Linked DNA regions of Homo sapiens: regions 1 and 2 are each linked to region 3. Evidence: promoter capture Hi-C in 16 types of primary human blood cells and fetal thymus (Javierre and others, 2016). All regions are on one chromosome and are shown on one strand. Each heading gives the region's core, a stretch centred on a gene start or on the middle of the fragment in contact. The rest is flanking DNA. Distances are from core to core; before and after follow the strand shown.

Region 1 (3,405 bases), core at 906-3,405, 430 kb after region 3:
CCAGTTCTCCCACTAGCTCTGCTTACCAGCAGTGCCATCCTGGGCGATTACTTCCTCTATCAAAGCTCAGTTTCCCCACTTGGAGTGGGAGTTGTAGATTATACAAGACAATACATATGAAGTTCCTAACCCATGTAGCAGCTGTGCGATGGTTATGGTTATTCAGATTTTATCAAGCACCTACAAGGGCCCGATGCAGGCAGTTTCAACCTTACAGAGAGTGTGCTTTCCTGGTTGCAAACCCCTGAAGCCCTATTTACTTTTATCACAGTGGCTCCCAAATGTCTGGAAAGCAGGCAGGCATGTAGGGGACGTGCTGGCTCCTACACACCATCCTATCTAAACTTCTGTAGGGCCTGTATTCTCAGTAACTTCTGCACAGAGTACTTGCATTGAAACTGGGCTTGAAGCCATAAGCAGTGTTTCTTAACAAGGGGTGAGCATTGGAATCACCAGGGGACCCTATTGACAAATTTTAACTCAGTAGGTCTGGAGTAGGGCCCAGCTGTCTGTGTGCTTTTACAAGCTCCTTAAGTGATTCTGATGTGCACCCCCAGTTGAGAACCATTGAACCAAAAAAACTATTCTGCACATTTCAAATATCAGATAACTGCGTGGGAGAGAGAGCGTTTGAGAGGAGGGCATGGGGAAGTGGGACAAGGAGTTGCAGAGATCTTTCCAGTAGAAATTATGTCAGGAAGGAGGGGGTCCACATCTTGACTGGCCTTCCCAGCAAGAGCCCCTCTGGTCCTTGCACGGCTAATTCCAAAACACCCGTGACTTCAGAGATAAGGTCAGCCTGGGACTGTGCGTCTGTGCGTCCTCCCAACTTGAAGCTTCAGTTACTGTTTGACTGCTCAGGGCTTCTTCCTGTGTGCCATTCAGACCTACAGCCACTGAGTGAAACCCTTCTCTTGCTTTTGTACTGCTTTGGAGGCAGCTGCCTCCCCACAGATGAACAGTGTGACCTCGCAGGCCACTCGGCACTGTGAGCTCCTGTGCTGCTGTCCCAGCCAGAATCCTGTCCTTGAAAGGAGGGCTCCCTGTGCCTCCTGTCAGGTGATGGGAGGCTCTGTCCCTGGCCAGAGTCCCCGTGGGGATGGAGACCTACAAAACTCAAATGCCCTTTGTAGTTACTCCCTCTTCTTCTGTTCTTGCTCAGTGGCTTTTATTTGGTTCCCTTTGAGTTCCCAGCCCCTATTTCTCTTCAGAGGTTACTGATGAGCCAAGCCTCAGAACATATCAGAAGCAGCCAGAGGCTGTCTCCTGGTGAGGCTGCAATGCATTTCACCAAGCAGACATCACCTTGGGCAGCAGGCCCATTTGGTTGTCATGACAACGTGGGTAGTTTGTGTCGTGGAGTGTGCTGTGCCCTCATTCTGGCTTCCCAAGGTCCCTTGCCCCAGCTTTCTTTCCCAGACCCTTTCAACAGACTCCCGGCTTCCTGGCGCCACCTCCACATTAACTGTTGTTCAATTTGGAGTAGCTTTGTCTTGATCAGCAAAAAAAAAAAAAATGCTCAACTTAGCTTTCAAAGGAATAGATCGAGCCCATTCCTCTCCTCAAAATACTCCCATCTCTCTCAAAGCCAGTGTCCTTACCATGGCTCCCAAGATCCTCCAGGGTCTGGCCTCAGTTTCTTCACTGACTTCAGCTCCCACCACGATTTCCCTTCCCAACCGCTCCTGGCCTTCTCATTGTTGTTAGATGCAGCAAGCAGGCTCACACCTCAGGCCTTTTGCACTTACTGTTGCACATTCTGTGCCCCGATTTCTGCATGCCTGTTCCCTTCCTCCATTCAGGTCACTGCTCAAATGTCCCCCCACTTAGAGGCCCTCACCCACCCTACCTAGCATGGCAGTCTTCCACCCTGTCATCCTGTCTTTTTACCCAGCTTTGTCTTTCCTCATAGCACCTTCCGATCCCCAGCATGATGTTGCAGACTCAATTGTTTGTGGTTTTAGTGTCTGTCTTCCCCACTGGAATCCCCCTAGAACAGGGGCAGGCACATAGTCAATGCTCGATAAACATTTGTTAAATAAGCGGATGAGTGACTAGACTTGGATCCAAAGCCTGGCGCTGCTATTTGGTAGCTTTGTGGCATCGCACAAGCCACCCAGTCACCCTAAGCCTTGGTCTTCCTGATTGTGAAGCAGAGGTGATCATGTCTGCCAGCTGAGGTGGTGAGAATGAAAGTGGTGTTGCGCAGGGAATGGGCTCAAGCGACTCCCCAGATGGCGTTGATGTTATCATTCTGTGCTTGTGTCAGCTGCATTCAGAATGTGCTCCTTGCCTAAGGCTCCCGAGCACCCCACACACTTCCAGGGCACCTGAGACTCTGTGACCTGCCAGGGAACCTGCAAGATGCCCAAGGAAAAGACAACCAGTCATGGGCTGAGGCAAGAGCCTGCCTCCTACAGAGGGGCTCTGCGTTCACATGGGGTGACCGCAGCCTTTAAATGGAAAAGCAGGCCGCCCTGGCCGTCCCCCCTACCTTCTGCTGTCTGTTCACCAAGGCCTGGAGACTGCCTCTTCTGGCCGGGTGAGATGGCCCTGTGTGAGTCCAGCAGCCCTTCCTCCGCCCGCCTCCAGCAGTCTCTCACGTACTGGGCTTGCAGCAGGACGTCTAGCCAGTCACCGCAGAGTGGGGCTTCACTGAATTTCTTGGGGGTGTCCTTGGGGTGGGGACAAAAGTGTTAAAAGGAGGAAGGAAATTCACAGTGTTACTTTTTTAGCAGGCTGGAAGATACCTGGGCCCATTTCTGAAACTTTTTAAAAAGGAATTGTTTGTCCATTGAAAGTCCTACCATTGTCGGTTTCATATTAAGATACTTCCTTCAGTTTATCATGTCTGATGACTTTCAAAGAAGGCAAGGCCAGCAAACATGCGAGGCACTGAGTCACCCTCATGGAGTGACTCATGGAGTCTGAACACAGCACTGGGGGAAGACACTAAGAGCAGGAGGACCCCAATCTCTGCCCTTGAGGGCTTCCTGTGCCTGAGACTTGGGGGGCTGTGGGTGATGTGGACAGGCGGGCTGCCTCATCTGAGCCAATAAATTGCACCAACACAGATGACAGTGTGGACTTCAGGTGGGATGTTGATGGTATCTGCATGTCCTGTGTTTAGATAATGAAATAAGACACTTGCTCTGCCTGTCGATTTAAAGTTGGCAATTGACATAAGGAAAAGGGGGGTCAATGGCACCTGGAAGATGACAGACAGAATCGTGATCCAGTTAGCATAGTTATCAGTAAGCTAATGACACAAAAGACACAGGTAACAAATGGGTAAGGGAGTCAAAGGGGAAGAATAATGGCGTGACAGAATAAGGACCTCTCAGCAGACTAGGCTGCCAATAAATGTGAAGTGTTGCCTTTGGGATCAAAAGGACAATCACACTG
Region 2 (3,189 bases), core at 395-2,894, 400 kb after region 3:
TTGTATTTTTAGTAGAGATGGAGTTTTGCCATGTTGGCCAGACTAGTCTTAAACTCCTGACCTCAGGTGATCCACCCACCTTGGCCTCCCAAAGTGCTGGGATTACAGGCATGAACCACCATGCCTGGCCCAGATTTGTAATTATTTTCTAGAATAACTGAAATAGCAAAGAGGTTTGCTTCATCTCAAGTCCAACTTCAAGTGATGGGCTATAGCTGCCCAGAGTGCTGTGTGGAAGAGCCAAACTCAGGCTCAGCAGGAAAGCAAACCATCCCTGATGGAGGAGCAAGGCCAGCCGTTGGTCCAGCACTTAAAAGAAAGAGCACACGGGCCACCTATTTGCTGATCCCTGTACTGCACTGACTTTCCTAGGTTAGGATAGAGCCTTCTACGAGTGTGTATATTCCACAGCACTTAGAACATAGTGCTTAACCGATAGTAGATGAGAGATAAGTATTTATTGTTTGATAGCAACATAAACATGTTGAATGAGGCACAGCATCCCAGAAATTGCAGGAGCAGCAGACAGCCACTCAGGGAGTCGTAAGTGAATAGCTCTCCTCCAGGCCAGCCAAGCAGCGTTCACGTGAATAATCTCAAACTAGCATGCGTGCAAAATAGAGTGTGAAGCTTATGGAAAATGGTTTTATTCAGAAGACTGAATACTGATGTAAAAAAATCAGTTTCACTTCTGCATGATGATAATACTTTCCCTAGAACTACTCAGTAACAGAGAAAACCCATATACCACACAGAGCACCACCTCCACATACCCTGCTCGCGGTCATATTTAAGGTCACCCGTCTCCTCTGGAGCTTTCCCGTGGATTGCTGTAAGCTCTGCTCCCCGCTGCCACCCACAATCCATCAATTAATGTATCAAAAGGGAGAGAAGGTGTTTCTAGCATGTACTGTGGTAAATTACTGAAGGAAAAATTACTAATTATGGACACTCCTGCAGGCAGAGCATTCCTTCCCTCCCCTACCCTTTTGGTTTTCAGCCCCATTCTGGGCTCCCTACTTCCCTCCCAGACTGTCTCCGGCCTCAGGCTGGGAGTTCTCTGTTTCCATTTCATCTCTTTTCCATACCTCTGGATGGGGATGTGTCCAGGAACCCAGGCCAAAACCAGCAAATTTATCACCGTGGTAATGACAGCAAGCTGCATGCTGAGTGAATTCTGCAATCCCCCTCAACTCCTTTTTTTGCCAAAACCCATAAAGCTGCAAGATCCAGCAGGTTACAGAGACTGTTATCTGCACATGAAGAATAGCTCTGTTAGAAATGCAATTAGGTATCAGCCATAAGGCTATTTTTGGAAGCTTGTTTGGGGGAAATAAAAAAAAACTTGCCATGTGGTGGGAGATGTTAGTCAATTCACCAAAACTGAGTATCACTAGCGGCATTGTAAAACAACCTTTATCAATATGTAACATTATAAAGACCCACCTTTTGTTCCCTGGTGGTGCCTCGTTGTTCTGAGAGTGAGTATTTATGCTTGTGGTGGCAAAATCCCCTCTTTATTTACGTGAGCAGCTCCTCCCAAACCAGGGGCAGTGGAGAATCCTTAAACCTGGTCATTCCAAAAAAAAAAAAATACTTCCTTAGGGTTTGGGAAAAAGGAACTTGGTCGTTCCAATAGGCGCTGAAGAAATTGTAACATACCAGGTTGAGCACACCTACTCTGGTCAAGGCATGGGGTTTGGAGGCACAGACTTGAGGAAGCATGTGTCAGGAGGCGCATTGTCAGGGAGGCTTATTACTGGGAAGGCTTATTAGCAGGGAGGTAGTTTCCAGGAAGCAGTGCAAACCAGTGTGTGCTCTAAAGGAGCAAGCCACTGTCCAGGCTCATTAGGAAGGCAGTACCCAGTCATATGAGAGGCTCGTGGTATAAGGCTGTGCCGGATACCCAGGAAACAGGCAGGGCACCAAAGCACCACTGACTCTCCATACTGCAGGATTAAAAAGCTTTTGATGACTCACTCTAAATCAAGAGATGTTTCTAAATGGTGTGTTGCATTTGTCACAGCAATATCTCCTTTTATTTGGAGCATGCATGTGCTATCCCATCTTAAAATTTAATTCAGCAGTGTTTGATGCAGCCTAGAGTCTCAGTCCAGCAGCAGCCTTATGTCCCCAACTTCTTTACTCTGCTTATATGGACAATAAGGGTCAAATTGCACTGAGTAGGGAAAAGATCCATTTGGGGCTGTGGCTGGCTCAGGTGTCAAGTCATTTTCCTGTTGGATCCAGGTTCACCAATACTCATCATTGGGTCAAGTTTCCACTTCCCCAAATCCCCCTCAGCACACTCCTGAAGTTCCCACCCTTCCCCCACATGGAATAAGGGTGCAATTATTGTTTAGTCCCAATGCCTGCCACGCTCTCTATGCATAATTCTCTCCAGTAGGGACACATGGAAACCAAGGCACAGACATGCAGGTGCCCCAGACCCTTTCCCAAGACAATGATGTGTCTGGAGATAGTGGCCTCCGAGGTATTACCTAAGGACTGGTGATGTTTGACCTCCATAAAGGGCAAGTCGAAGTAGAGAAATCAATCATAGCATCCTCAGATATGTGAAGATCCTATGCCAATGACAGAGGATCTTTTTCTGTGCTGATCCAGAAAACAGGCCAGGCACATAGCTGAAGATTATAGGGAAGCAGATGCAACTCCACATAATTAATTCCTTACATATAACTTAATGGAATAGCTCGAATACATACAAGTCAGAAGGGAAATGCCCATTTCCTTCTGTAGAAGGGATTCCTAAATTGACTGCAAAGTTGAACTGAATGACCTCTGCCATCTCTCCCAATTATAACATTCTAGAGGTGCCCTAAAACTCTCCATAAATGATAAAGTCTCTTGTGACTGCTTCCTCATCTACTCATCTTTTGAATACTCAATTCAGCTATAGCCTTGGAGGTATAGAATGTACTTATGTGAGGAAAGAAATATCTTAAACAAGGAAGCAATGAATTTTCCAGGCTTTCTTGGAATCCCCCAGTGGCCTGATCACATCCCCCAAATGGGACATGCCATACAGACAGCACTGACATTTTAACAAGTGTGCTGAGCCCTTGGACATAAACAAACTCCGGGCTGCTGTTTCACCCCTCCTTCATGCACGAAATCATGGAATTTTAGAGACGGAGGAAGCCTGGAGGTCATTGCCTCCCAGATCCT
Region 3 (3,099 bases), core at 167-2,666:
GTGCCTGGCACTGTGCTACTCAGGGATGATGGATCGATACAGCCTCACTGCTGCTTTTTTCCCCTACTCTCCGTGGAGCACACTTTCCGCCCTAGGCCCTAGGGAAAATCCATCCCCCGCTTCAGCTGGCTTTGCAAAGAAACTCAGGAAACTAACACCAAACTCAGAAGGGGGAAAACACAAGACTTTGAACTTTTTAAAGATGGGAAGCTGCTTTCATTCCCACGTGGGCATCAAGGGAAAACCTATGGGGACTCTTTTCCGGAGAGGTGTGATTTTCCTCTAACCCTCCGAGAAACGTTCCAAATCCACTCCAAAACTGTGGAGAAGTGGCCGAGGCAGAGAGAGAAGAGTTAAATCAAGCCCAGATCTCAGCAATCTGTGTTCAATTTTGATAAAAATCTCCCTCTCCCCCACCGCCCCCCTTCCTCCACCCCACAGCTCAGACACGTCTCTTTATGTTAGGAGCTTGCATCTTGTTTGGGGCACCACACGCGGCACTCCTGGAGAACCTGGCACGTACCTCACCGTGGCCATGTGGCAGAACCAACCATCCCACTCCCAAGCTACGGCTGGACACAGGGCCACAGCGTCCTGGCCATCACCACCACCTCCCCCTCTTCCTTCTCATCCTCTTCACAAAATTACCTGCCGCCAGACCAAGTCCCTCATTCCCCGGTTAAGTCAGAGTCCCGACGCCTGGTAAAGTCAGGGCATGAGGTTGGTTTGCGACCGCAGGTGCTGAGAGCCCCAGAGTCCGGGGACCCCTTTCCTGAGATGCTCCTTCCCCCGCCCAGGGTCCCACTGCCACTGAGAACAAGAACCTTACGGCTGCCCTGCCCACTGGCCAGAGGCCAGGCCTGCAAGTGGGAGCTGGGGGCTTGTGAAGACTTCAGCCCAGCCAAGTGAAGGTTCAAGCCGAACCCGGAAAAGCCACCACCAAAAAGTTGTCAGTTTTGCGGGGTATCTTCTGTGTTTGTCCACTTGTGACAACCAGGGGTCAGGTTTCAAAGCCGCAAAAAACATTTTTAAAAAGTTTTCCAAAGACATTTCCTATGTCCAGATGTGCCAGTACAGACACACGCAATCACACTCATACACACACACAACTCACACACACACAGGCCCTGGGAGCCCACTCCGGGGTCGGCGGCTCCTGCAAACACTTTGGAGAAACAAAACCGCCAGCCTGCGGAGCTGCTGCCTCCCCAAGCCCCGCGGGGCATGCTAAAGAAAGCAGAGGGAGAGAAGTGTGGGAGCCCAGCGGAGAGGGCTCCCCGCGGCCCGGGCCCCAAGACGGGGAGCGCCAGGGCCGGCCGCACTTACTCCGAGGACCCCAGGGCGCCCGCGCTCCCGCAGCCCGAGGTACGGCGCCGCCGCCCGCGCTCCGCTCGCTGCTGCGTGCTCCGCGCTATCCCCGGGAAGCCGCGGCTGCCGCCCCTCCAGGCCCGGCCTCGCGCCCGTCCGCCCGCCCCGCTCTGACGTCAGGCGTCTTGGAGCGGGATATTTATGGCAAGGTTACTCTGAATTTTCCCTAGGTAGACTTCTGATTGCAGTTTCTTGGGATTTGTAATTTTCACACTTTCAGACCGAACGCAGGCGGGGGGAGAGCGCCACCGGCAGGGCGAGGCGTACAATGAGGGTAGCTGTTCCCCACTTTGGCAGGGAGCGTTCTCAGGGCCCCTTCTGTTTTGGAAACATGGAAGGGTCAAAGAGGCAAAAGTGGCCACCTGGGCAGCGGGTTTCTCCCCGGCTCCTCCTCTGGGCTACGGGCAAATGGCCTGGTCTGAGGCCGGCTCGGAGGTGAAGGTCCCGGTGCCAAGGAATCCCCTGTCCCTCCCCAAAGTGTCCCTGCACTGGACAGTGTGTCCCAAGGGGTGCTGGGCAAGACAGGAGCGAAATCAGGCACAACAGAACAGCTAATTAGGAGTCCTGGTCCACGCCCTAACAACTTTTCCATTTCTTTTTTGGGAGTGTATATATATTTTTTTAAGTTTATTTTTATTAAATTATGTTCCACACTCCCTGCCTCTGTATAGCTTTTCCAATTCAGTGCCAGTCAATTCATCTTACTTCATTGCTTGTATGCATAGTTTGAGCAGTTTACAATAGCTCTTATTCATACTTTTAAAATTTCCTTTTAGTTTTTTTTTTTCTTTTTTTTTTAAATGTGATTGTGGTCTGTCTCCTTGACTGAACTAGAGATTGCTTTGGTCAAGAGCAATTGTCCTCTCTGGGATTGGCAACACCCTCACGGGGAGTATTTGATCTTCTCTGTTTCCTATTTTCCCCAGCTCCCTCTGCAAGCAAATGGTGCCCCCACTGGGTGATGACCTGTATACAGTTTTCTGGGTGTTCAGTGGTTGTTCTGTGTTAGTGGTTGTCTGTTTCTCCACCTCACCAAAGGGGCTTAGGGAAATGGCTTGGTTTAAGGGCCACCCTTCCAGAGAAAAAAAGAGAATGTAATGCATGATCTTCCAGAGGAAAAAAAAAAAAAAAAGAGAATGTAATGTGTTATCCTTCATGGTTCCCAAGGATTGGAGAATGAAATGAACTTAAAATGATACACGTGAGATGCAAAATACTTATATGGTTAGACAACATAAGTGTTTAGGTATTCATCTCACCATGAATGGGAGGGGGCACGGATAATTGCAAATCATCATTAAAACACAACTATAGTGAACTTTCCATTAGCCCAAACTGGTAGAGGCGGGGTTGTGTTTTAACCACAGTTACAGTGCAGCAGGGACTCAAGGACTTGGAATGTGTTTACCTCTTTGGCAGCAGCTGGTTAGAGCTGATTGCCAGAAGGAGCTGTCTTAGGGCTGGGCCTCTCGGTAGAGGCCACGCTGTTTTGACCCAAGCCACCGAGGGCCCTGCAGCAGGGAGCTGCTGTTTGGTCACTGTGGGATTGCTCTCCCTGGCATAATACCCCACTTTTACCTCCTTCCATTCCCTCTCTCATATCAAGGCTCCACTGGCAAGGTGAGCTCTGTTCTTCAGCAGACCCTGCAAATAGGTTTCCAGAAGCCATTGACAAACCCATTCTCCCTTGCCTTTCTCAACTAAAGAAGTTAGAAATCTACAATATTCACC

Evidence for each region. The method cuts DNA at HindIII sites, captures the fragments that hold promoters and counts their contacts. A CHiCAGO score of 5 or more calls a contact.
Region 1: a contact is called between a fragment that was not itself captured here and the fragment with the promoter of DAAM2 in region 3, in 1 of 17 cell types (endothelial precursors). The highest score is 5.8, in endothelial precursors.
Region 2: a contact is called between a fragment that was not itself captured here and the fragment with the promoter of DAAM2 in region 3, in 1 of 17 cell types (endothelial precursors). The highest score is 5.0, in endothelial precursors.

Annotation. Positions count from the first base shown.
Region 1 is chr6:39,365,004-39,368,408 of GRCh38, reverse strand. All of the region lies in intron 16 of KIF6 (kinesin family member 6), which reads left to right. LOC107986594 (a long non-coding RNA gene) reads right to left here. Exons shown (of 4, transcript XR_001744111.2): 3 at 2,495-2,675. Among named protein-coding and RNA genes, the nearest start is that of KCNK16, 44 kb to the right of the region's middle. The HindIII fragment of the contact is 2,633 bases long and covers 839-3,405 here.
Region 2 is chr6:39,386,690-39,389,878 of GRCh38, reverse strand. The region is part of intron 15 of KIF6 (kinesin family member 6); the gene reads left to right. LOC107986594 (a long non-coding RNA gene) reads right to left here. Exons shown (of 4, transcript XR_001744111.2): 4 at 439-1,570. Among named protein-coding and RNA genes, the nearest start is that of KCNK16, 66 kb to the right of the region's middle. The HindIII fragment of the contact is 646 bases long and covers 1,322-1,967 here.
Region 3 is chr6:39,790,693-39,793,791 of GRCh38, reverse strand. DAAM2 (dishevelled associated activator of morphogenesis 2) reads right to left here and starts at 1,416. Exons shown (of 25, transcript NM_001201427.2): 1 at 1,327-1,416. The HindIII fragment of the contact is 9,754 bases long and covers 1-3,099 here.